Linked DNA regions of Homo sapiens: regions 1 and 2 are each linked to region 3. Evidence: promoter capture Hi-C in human tissues and cell types (Jung and others, 2019). All regions are on one chromosome and are shown on one strand. The core of a region is centred on a gene start or on the middle of the fragment in contact, and the rest is flanking DNA. Distances in the headings are between cores, read along the strand shown.

What was found. The method cuts DNA at HindIII sites, captures the fragments that hold promoters and counts their contacts. A contact is called where the count stands out against the background at its distance.
Region 1: a fragment that was not itself captured here is called in contact with the fragment with the promoter of CLDN20 in region 3 in 1 of the 25 tissues and cell types used here (dorsolateral prefrontal cortex).
Region 2: a fragment that was not itself captured here is called in contact with the fragment with the promoter of CLDN20 in region 3 in 1 of the 25 tissues and cell types used here (dorsolateral prefrontal cortex).

The regions. Positions count from the first base shown.
Region 1 is chr6:156,822,829-156,826,124 of GRCh38, forward strand. The region is part of intron 1 of ARID1B (AT-rich interaction domain 1B); the gene reads left to right. Among named protein-coding and RNA genes, the nearest start is that of MIR4466, 45 kb to the left of the region's middle. The HindIII fragment of the contact is 7,679 bases long and covers 1-3,296 here.
Region 2 is chr6:156,980,422-156,983,563 of GRCh38, forward strand. The region is part of intron 4 of ARID1B (AT-rich interaction domain 1B); the gene reads left to right. Among named protein-coding and RNA genes, the nearest start is that of MIR4466, 200 kb to the left of the region's middle. The HindIII fragment of the contact is 3,613 bases long and covers 1-3,142 here.
Region 3 is chr6:155,262,247-155,265,493 of GRCh38, forward strand. It overlaps CLDN20 (claudin 20), which reads left to right and starts at 1,767. Exons shown (of 2, transcript NM_001001346.3): 1 at 1,767-2,042. The region is part of intron 5 of TFB1M (transcription factor B1, mitochondrial); the gene reads right to left. The HindIII fragment of the contact is 11,103 bases long and covers 1-3,247 here.

The DNA.
Region 1 (3,296 bases), core at 196-2,695, 1.6 Mb after region 3:
GTGTGCCGTGACCAGGCGGGTGTGCGAGGGAGGAAGACAGGCTAGACGGCCGTGTTGCATCCACCTCCTGTTCTCCCTTTACAGAGAGCCAGAGTACTGTTTGTAATATGCTCAGGGAAAAACAGAGGCATTTTGAGCTATATTTAGACACCATCACAGAAAAGTAAACACAGATTGCTTCCCGATATGACAGCAACTATCTACAGGCCACTGTGGCTGACCCCGATCCTTATCGAGCTTGTTTCACATGGCTGTGATCTGTGTGCATCAGTATTGAAGAAATGGCACGTTACCTGACATGTCTTCTCTATGCCCGTGTGTAGTCCGCTGTGTTGGTGTGTTACGGCCGGGCCATGGATTCTTTACTTTTGCACAGTTGGGCTGTTCCATTTTTTCTCAATGAGTAGGTGGGCCCTGGGCTCCAGGTGCTGCCATAGCCCCTGTGACCTCTGAGAGCCTTTATAGCGCTGATGAATTTAATGTTCATAATAATTGCAAGGTGGGTTTTATTTCTCCTTTAGTGAATGAGAAAACTAAGAAATAAGGTCACAGTGTACTCGAGGTCCCTGGTGGGACAGGGCTGTGAATCCATTCTGAATCCAGAGCCCCTACTTCCTTGCTGGGCAGTGCCATTCGGTACACAGCTGCAGACGTGAATAAACACCCCCTGCCCTGTTTGAGCGAGAGAAATAGAACAGATTTCAAAAGTTTTCTTTAGTTACTGGTAAGAGAATGTTGTTTCCCGAACAATGGTTCAAAAGAGGGAAGAGTTTTCTATCAGCTCTTGTTTAATCCACATGTGTAGAAATGATTTTAGATCAACAAGATTCGATAGTTCTTTCGGTGGGTTTTCTTTGTTGTTTTTTTTTTTTTTTTTGTGAAGTGTTTTTCCAATTTGCGGTTGAAGGAATTGGGCTGAAAAAAGTAGTAAAATATGATATGCATAAAGATGTATCTAATAAACTGTGTTCTTAATTTGATATTTAGGAGCAAATACAATTAGATATCTTTTACTATAAATGCATGTGTAGGGATACTCTGAAAGCCTGATAACAGAGTATCTAAATATAAAAAGGATAAAGTATATTTAAAGTATACTAAAAGTATATAAGCAAGTTGTCCTTTAACTTGGATCATCTTGAAAAGGACAGTTGGATTCCCAGCCCAGCCTCTGAAAGCCTATCTGACATGTAATATAGCTGAATTGTGCTACCCAATATGCTTAGAAGAATCTATATACAAACATTTCTTAAAAATAGACAATGTATTTCTTCCTTAGAGAGAGAGAGAATAACTCCTACTTACATGTACATCCAAAAGTTTACTTTGAATAAGGAGGAGGAAAGTCTTATCAAGTAAAAAAATTGCATTAAAAGCCAAGTAACTAAAACCAGACTGGTTAGGTTAAGAGCTCTTTGAAAATGGTGGTGTATATATTGTGGCCTTCACAGCACTTGTCTTATTTTCTGGAATTGAAACTCAAGCTACAGCAGTTGTGGAATGCCATCTAGAAATGAAAACATGCTCGGACAATCTATTTAGAGAAGTTGTTGAGGGCTGTTTTCGATGTGGATGATAACCCTGATAGAGCATAAACTTTCAGTGAGAAATGAAAATGGTCATACCCGGATAGATGTTAAAAAAACATAAAATTGGCCAGGCGCAGCGGCTCACGCCTGTAATCCCAGCACTTTGGGAGGTCGAGGCAGGCGAATCACTTGAGGTCAGGAGTTCGAGACCAGCCTTGCCAACAAGGCAAAATCCTGTCTCTACAAAAAATACAAAAATAAGCTGGGTGTGGTGGTATGTGCCTGTAATCCCAGCTACTTGGGAGGCTGAGACATGAGAATCACTTGAACCCGGGAGGTGGAGGTTGCAGTGAGCTGAGATTGTGCCACTGCACTCCAGTCTGGGTGACAGAGCGAGACCCTGTCTCAGAAAACAAAACAAAACAAAAAACATAAAATTGCTTCAGGTTAGATGTGCGTATGAGAAGCAGCTTGGCCCTTTTGTTTTCCAGAAGTCTTAGATTTGATTTTTTTTTTTTTCTTTGAGATGGAGTCTTGCTCTGTCACCCAGGGTGGAGTGTGCAGTGGCACGATCTTGGCTCACTGCAACCTCTGCCTCACAGGTTCAAGCAGTTCTCCTGCCTCAGCCTTCTGAGTAGCTGGGATTACAGGTGCCCGCCACCATGCCTGGCTAATTTTTTGTATTTTAGTGGAGACAGGATTTCACCGTGTTGCTCAGGCTGGTCTTGAACTCCTGAGCTCAGGCAATCCACCTGCCTCAGCCTCCCGAAGTGCTGGGATTACAGGCGTGAGCCGCCGCACTTGGCCAATTTTTAGTTTCTTTAAGGGACTGGTAGTGAGAAGCAGGAGTTGAGACCCTCAGTTGTACATTTTTAATGCTCAAAAATAGAGGACACAGCAGGATGGATTTGGACTGTGGATGAATATTTAATAATAGACCATAAGGAGAAGTTAAAATTAAATAATTTGCACTGTATGAGTAACTGTTTTTCTATCTGAAGTCTCATTGAAAGATATTTGATGCATTTTGAGAGGTTCAGATAATCTGTGTATTTAATGCTTTCGATTTTCAGAAATCTGAGGGTTAAGCTAACATTTTTGACATGGTGCAAATTAACTGAATTTTAAGTAGGACTGTGAGAGTTGATGGCAGTGATGAGACAGATAATACAAAACAATTTTAGTCACTGATAAGATGAATTTGCTGCACTGTTATCTATAGCATTAAAACATAGACATTCCAATCATTTTCCCATTTAACATTTCTGCTTTAATTAAGGCAGTTTTGGTCGTGCACTATTTGAAGTGAAATAAGTAGACGTTTCCTGTGCCCTGGGCTGTCTAGATTGAATGTGAAGATAGGACTGCCTCAGGGCCCCGTATTGGAAATTCAGCCTGAAATTTGATTTACTCAGCCTCTCCATAGGTCCTTCATTCACTTGGCTGATTTTGAAATCACCAACTCAGCCTTGATTTTCATACTTCCATAAAAAGTTTTACCTTTTTCAAGAAAATCTAGAAAATAATCACATTTTATTTTTATCAGGCATAAATTCTAATTTAAATAATTATGAGAAAATGAATTCTTAGCCCTAGATTTTAGTTTTACTACAAATATATCAACATACATGTTTGTACACTTAATTATGAAGGCGGCTCAGGTTATGTAAAATCAGTATATTGTTTGGGCAAACAAATGTACTGTCGTTTAATTTCTATCATGTTAAGTCCAAACAATGTCTTGGCTGGTGAAAGTAGTAACAGTTT
Region 2 (3,142 bases), core at 207-2,706, 1.7 Mb after region 3:
GCAGTGAGCCGAGATCATGCCATTGCACTCCAGCCTGGGCGACAAGAGCCAACCTACATCTCAAAAACAAAACAAAACAAAACAAAATAAGAATCATTGAGCTCCTTTCTGTGTGCCAGTCAATGTGCCAGTCATTGGGGATACAGAGATGAAACCACGCAGTGCTTTTCCCGTAGGAGGAGTCCGGTTTAGTGGCAGGGCTACTCGTAGACAGTGCCGTGTAAAATCGCCTGCACTGTTGTGGCTGAGGATCTGCAGGAGCCTGAGCAGGGATCCCTGGAGTGGAGGGACGGCCTTTGAGACAGTGGAGGGACCCGTGCAGCAGCCCGGAACCCGGCAGTCTGGGGAAAGGCTGGCAGCTTTCAATGTACCCAGGAGCTCAGATTTCAGCCTGAGGCAGTGAAGAGCCCTTGACATACAGAAGAATACACAGATACTGGTTTATATTTTTAGGGAAAATCTTTTATTATTTTAGGGAGGGTCACAGAAATTAAGTCATTTTCACTTGTTGGAAGAAACAATTTCATGATAAATCTAGTTAGTGTTTATTTTGTTGTTTACATTGTAGCATAAACATCTGTGTAATCATGGCAGGTAAGTGAAGCCACTGTTTTTGTTGGTTTAACTCATGACTTAGCAAAAACTGGAAAGGTATTTCATTTCTTGAGACTTGTAGCCACTGTCCTCCCTTGTCTACTTCTGAGGGTGAGCAGTGCTGGTGTGACTGTTAGAAAGCACTGACTTAGTCTCTTCCTCTAAGATTGCTCCAGGTCCACATGACCTGTGGGCAGGATGGATGATTGATGTCTTTCTTTTGAGGGGTGGTAGTGAAGTAGAGCATAGGGGATTATTAACCACCTAGGTAGCTGGATCAGGCAATGGAGAGTCTCTGCCGTTCTTCACATCGAGTATATAGAATTAAGCATTCAGAAACAAAAAGGAGTTAAGGCACATATATCCTTTTCTCCTAGGATAAACTGTAACCCAGGTCATCTAAGTTTTCAAAAATAGACAAAATTTAGGAATGTATGATGAATTTATAGATGATGAAAATCAAATGAAATTGTCTTGTTACATGTATATTTCTTTAGAAATGTACATATACATGCAATCATTGCTATATATTATCTTTTAAATTCCTCAGTTTGGCATCATTTACTGGCTTCCTATTAGATGAGGATTGTAGCTTGCTGTACACTGTGTCTTTCCCACTCTTCAATGTCCTACCCATCTAATCCCATCAGGTTTTGGTTAAGACTGCATTACTGTTTATGTTATTATGTCTTCTTAACTCTTGTTCACTAAGCTAAATATTGCATTATACTATACTTATACTGTAATACTATAATAACTTAGTTTTGCTTGGAGTTCATTACCTCGTTTTTTTTTCACATGCTTTTCTTTGAACATCTGACTGGGCCTTCCTGTGCCCTCCAACAACTGGGCAGTGCAGTCTTCATGCGGTCATACCTGCCAGAGAAGTTTTTCAGCTCCAGTATTTTTTCTTAAGAGACATCCCTTCTGGATTTCCATAGTCTTCACCACAATTTGGAGTGGTTGTTAACGCAGGAGATAGATGTGTACAGCCATCTCCTGGGATGTCTCTTTTTTTTTTTTTGTGACTCTTCTGTTTGCCTCATGTGTGGATCTCCCGTTTCCTAGATCACTTACCATTTTGACTGCGCACATCTTTCAGTAGCTTCTTGAGAAAATGTGAATGGGAGGTAAATTTTTTAGACCTTGCATGTTTCAAAACACCTTTACTATATACCCTCATATTTAAATTGATTGACTACATATAGCAATCCTGCATGGAAATAATTTTCTCTAAGAATTAAAAGATAAAAGCTTCTGACTTCTGCTATTACTGCTTTCTGATGTTTCCTGTTGCTGTGGAGAAATTAGATGCCATTGTGACGTTGCCCTTTCTTTCTGTGTGATCCTGGAAACTGTTAGGGTTTTCGCCTGTGATGCCCGAAATAGTGCTGTGTGTCTCTATGGGTCTTTTTTTTTTTTTTTTGTACTTCATTGTGCTGGGCACTAAGTATGTACTGTTCTTCATTTTGGGGCAATTATCTTATATAGTTATTTGGTAATTTCTTTCTCTCCCTTAATCTGCTTTCTTATTCTGGTGCTCCTGGGTGTTGGATATACTGGATTTATTGATCTTTTCTTTCCTTCACTGATTTTTCTTTTCTGTTACTGTTTTCTGCGTGGGAGATAACCTTGACTCTATCTGCCAATCTGACTGTTAAATTATCTTGTTTTTCTCTTTATATTTTTTAATTCAAAGTGTTTTTCTTTATACATAGTTCCTTTTTTAATAGCATTCTTTATTTCCTGTATGCAATCACTTTTCCTCTCTCAAGCAGCATGTTATTATTTTTTACAATGTTTCTTCTATTCCTTGCATTATCTGTTTCTTCTGAATTACCCTTTTTACTTTTTACAATCTGTTTTAGGCAGGAGGCTTCCTCAAAAGTGTGAGAATCTTTGTTCCTATTTAAGAGTGAGGTGCATTAAAGGGCTGATTGGTAGTGGTGCGTGCCTGTAATCCCAGCTACTCTGGAGGCTGAGGCAGGAGAATGGCTTGAGCCTGGGAGGTGGAGGTTGCAGTGAGCCGAGATTGCACAACTGCACTCCAGTCCGGGCAACAGAGTGAGACCCTGTCTCAAAAAAAAAAAAAGAAAAAAAAGAAAGGCCTGGCACAGTGGCTCACGCCTGTAATCCCAGCATAGGCTGAGATGGGTGGATCATGAGGTCAGGAGTTCAAGACCAGCCTGACCAAGATGGTGACACCCCATCTCTACTAAAAACACAAAATTTAGCCAGGCTTGGTGGCAGGCGCCTGTAATCCCAGCTACTCGAGAGGCTGAGACAGGAGAATCGCTTGAACCCAGGCGGCAGAGGTTGCAGTGAGCCGAGATTGTACCACTACACTCCAGCCTGGGCGACAGAGCGAGGCTCAGTCTCAAAAAACAAACAAACAACAAAAACAGGCTGGTTGGAGGCCTCCTGTGTGAGCTGGGCATGTGGACAGGTAGGCATTTCTTTGGGGTTATCATGTGATCAGCCAGCTTTTTCACTGGGGACTTCCTCATGTTGATATGTGAAATATGCTCAGGAGTAGTTTATTTTCTCC
Region 3 (3,247 bases), core at 517-3,016:
GAATGGCAGAGTGCAGGCAGCAGCCCAAGACACACTCCACTGACTTCAGATGTCAGGTTCCTTCCCACAAACTCTGAACTATCCTGCCTACCTCGCCTCCTCCTGATTTGTATAGAGAAGTGGTCCCAACTGTCAGGCATGTGTCTGGCCACTCTCTACACCTCGCCAGCCTTCTCTCACTGGACTCTCCATTTCCCTTTCATCCCCTGAGCTTCCTGGCACCCTTGTCCCTGCCTCCCGTTCTCCAGGACTCATCTCCTGTAACCCTTCAACTCCAGTTCTCCCAGTGACAAAGAGCCAATTCTATCAATTCTTACTAGCAGCCTGCTAGTCTCCAGAAGAAATACTCTTAGCAAAATCTGAGATAAAATCTAATCCCTGCCTAGGCCTAAAACCATGAAATATTATCAAAACTCTACATAAGGCTTACAAACTATTAAGACCAAAAGCACAAATACAGAGATAGATGCACTCTCTTCCAGTACAGAAACTGCCACTTTCAGCTTCCTTAGATTTTAAATTTTGGCCTCATCTTTATTTGCCTGATTTCATTCCTTTGAGATATAGTTGGTATTTGCAAATACAGGAAGTGTCTAACTTTTGCTTGATTTAAATAAAGTTTTAAAACCCTGAACAAATATAGTAGTACCCCATGTAAACTATAGCGTCGACTTCTAAAGTTTGAATACAATTCCAATACTCTGTTAAGTTGGCTTATATTATGTCACGGCTAAAAGAGAATTCCCCTCACAAATGCAGTTACTATTTAGTGGGAGATTCTGTAAAACTCAGCGTCAACAAAGCTCTTCCAGTTATGTCTCCTGCTTCTGGGACGGCCAGGACCTCTCCTGTACCACCCCTTCCTCTCCCTTTCCCCCAAAGGCACCTTTCAGAATTACTCTGAATGATGGAGCCCATTTTTTTCTAGAACTATAGGAAAGCTGCTTGGTAACTATGGTAACGAATACAAAAATGTTTTTTACTTATAATTGAATGCTTATTTAAAATTACAAGTATTATTTTTTCTTCCTTGAGTTTTAAGTCTATTAATGGGTTTGATTACAAAAAAGAAATCAGTACAAAGGCATCAGAAGTACTTAAAATATTCTAGTTTAATGCCGCCAGCCTTTTCCAAACTCAGTCCATCAGTATACCAAAATGACCTACTAAAATTTCAAATGAAAGGATTTAAAATGAATTTAAATATTTGCCTTTCTAACCCTATACGTCAACGCTGTAACAAGCTAAGACTGTTTCTCAGTGTTAGCAGCCTTGGCCATAACAGGCCCGAGGCAGATGTCCTAGTTTCCAGGCCAGGGTGTCTAGGACGTGACTGGTTATCAGCTCAGAGCAGCACTTGGAACTCACAAGGGACCCGGGCTAAGGAGATATTAAATCTTAAATCTTAGATATTAGATATTACAACTGAGAACTGTAATCAACATGATATACAGAGGACACTGAAGAGACGTACAACTCAGTTCCTGATGATTATCATATGCCCAAAAGCTAAGTCACGACCACATGCACAGACACAGAAACAATGCTGGCCACTGTCTACAAAAGGGTCTTCATTCAACACTCTCACGGTGTTCAAGACCATTAGAGGACAAGATAGTGGAGATGAAAAAATGATGAGGAAGTTACTATGTAAATAGCCAAGACACAGCCATAACTTAAGACAACAGAAGGGCTAGTGAAAAAAAAAAAAAAGACCACAGGGAATAATCAGTAAGACTTTAAAGAACAACATATAAGAAGGATTCAAAGTTCGAAGTGGGATGATCACGGGCAGACCTGGGTGGTTGGGAACAGGAAGCATATGGCATCTTGCAGGCTATAGGCACCACAAAATGGAACGCAGGAGGACAGGGGCTTGGGAGAGCCACTTCACTGTCGGGTAAAACAACGGAGCAAGATGAGTGCCTCCGGATGCTTGGTTTCCCCACCCTCCAGTGTCTGCTTGCTCTTCAAGTACCTCCACCAAGCTAATGACAGTCCACTTTAGGACATCACGGGCCTCGAGGTTACAACTTTCCCAGGTAAGGAGAATCCCAGGTAGAGGCAGCAAGTCACTGATGCCTGTGATATGATAATTATGCATGTCATAGAAAAAGAAAATACTGACAAATGTGAATGTAGATCACATTTTCTGGAATTGGTTCACTCTACCTGTGATCCATGTCCAAAAGCCAATTTAAGGAAAGAATTTCCACTGTAAAACCTTAAAGCTGACAGCATTCTAAGTATTTCAAACCAACTGGTTCAATAAAGATCAACTACACGGTCAGTACCTATCCTAAAGTTTACAATTTGTGTTATTGTAACAATATTTATTTCTGCAGAAGTTCTGTCCTCACCCTTTTTTCTTCCTACAGATCTTTGTTTTTTTCTCTTTCTTCTTGGGATCATAAAAAAAGAACAGATTTTAAACAGTCACATAGTGTTTCCTCTCAGAGCAGATGTGGTAGGAAGAACTGAGGCCAAGAGAATGACAGCAAACTCAGATCACAAGAGAAATAAGACTAAGAAATGTGGTGAGGGGGATGAAGAGTTTTTTTACTGTGTAAATTATGTAAATGTACATATGTATGTATGTAAATTACACCTATTAGTAATAACAACAACAAGATGAGTCAGTGTCTCTTGGTCCCAAGAGATTAAACAATTTCAGGGAGATGCACGTGTAATCCTCAAGAAAGCACAAATGGAACAAGAACTGACAATTGTTGTATAAAGGTTTTCTGTTACATTTAATCTGGAGTTCCTGGATGATCAGAGGGAAAAGACCTTCCTAAAACTAGGCCTTTTCCACAAACCACGCCCTTGGTGTCTGTGAAGCAGCAGCATCTGGACGTGCCCTGTGTTTCCTGTCCCGGGCTGTGCTCCCGCTTGGGTTTGTGGATGTGGCAGGAGCTGCCTGAGGCAGCTTCGAGGCTGCCCAGCCGGGCCATGGGTGTGGCAGCACATTGGCAACTGCCAGGGTCTGGACCCCAGCGCTGCAGGTCCTGAGCAACTCCCGTCCCTCAGAGAGAAGACAGGACCTCAGAGAGGCTCTCAATCTAAACAAACTCAGAAGGCACTTGATAAATGCTGCTAGTAATATTATTAAAAGACTGAGAAATAGAACATGCATACAAATATAGTAATTCATAATAAACCATAATTATCAAACGGACTAGACATCACACTGAAGATGCTTGGTCAGTACATTCGTATATTCATAGCTGATACTGTTAATTTCCTA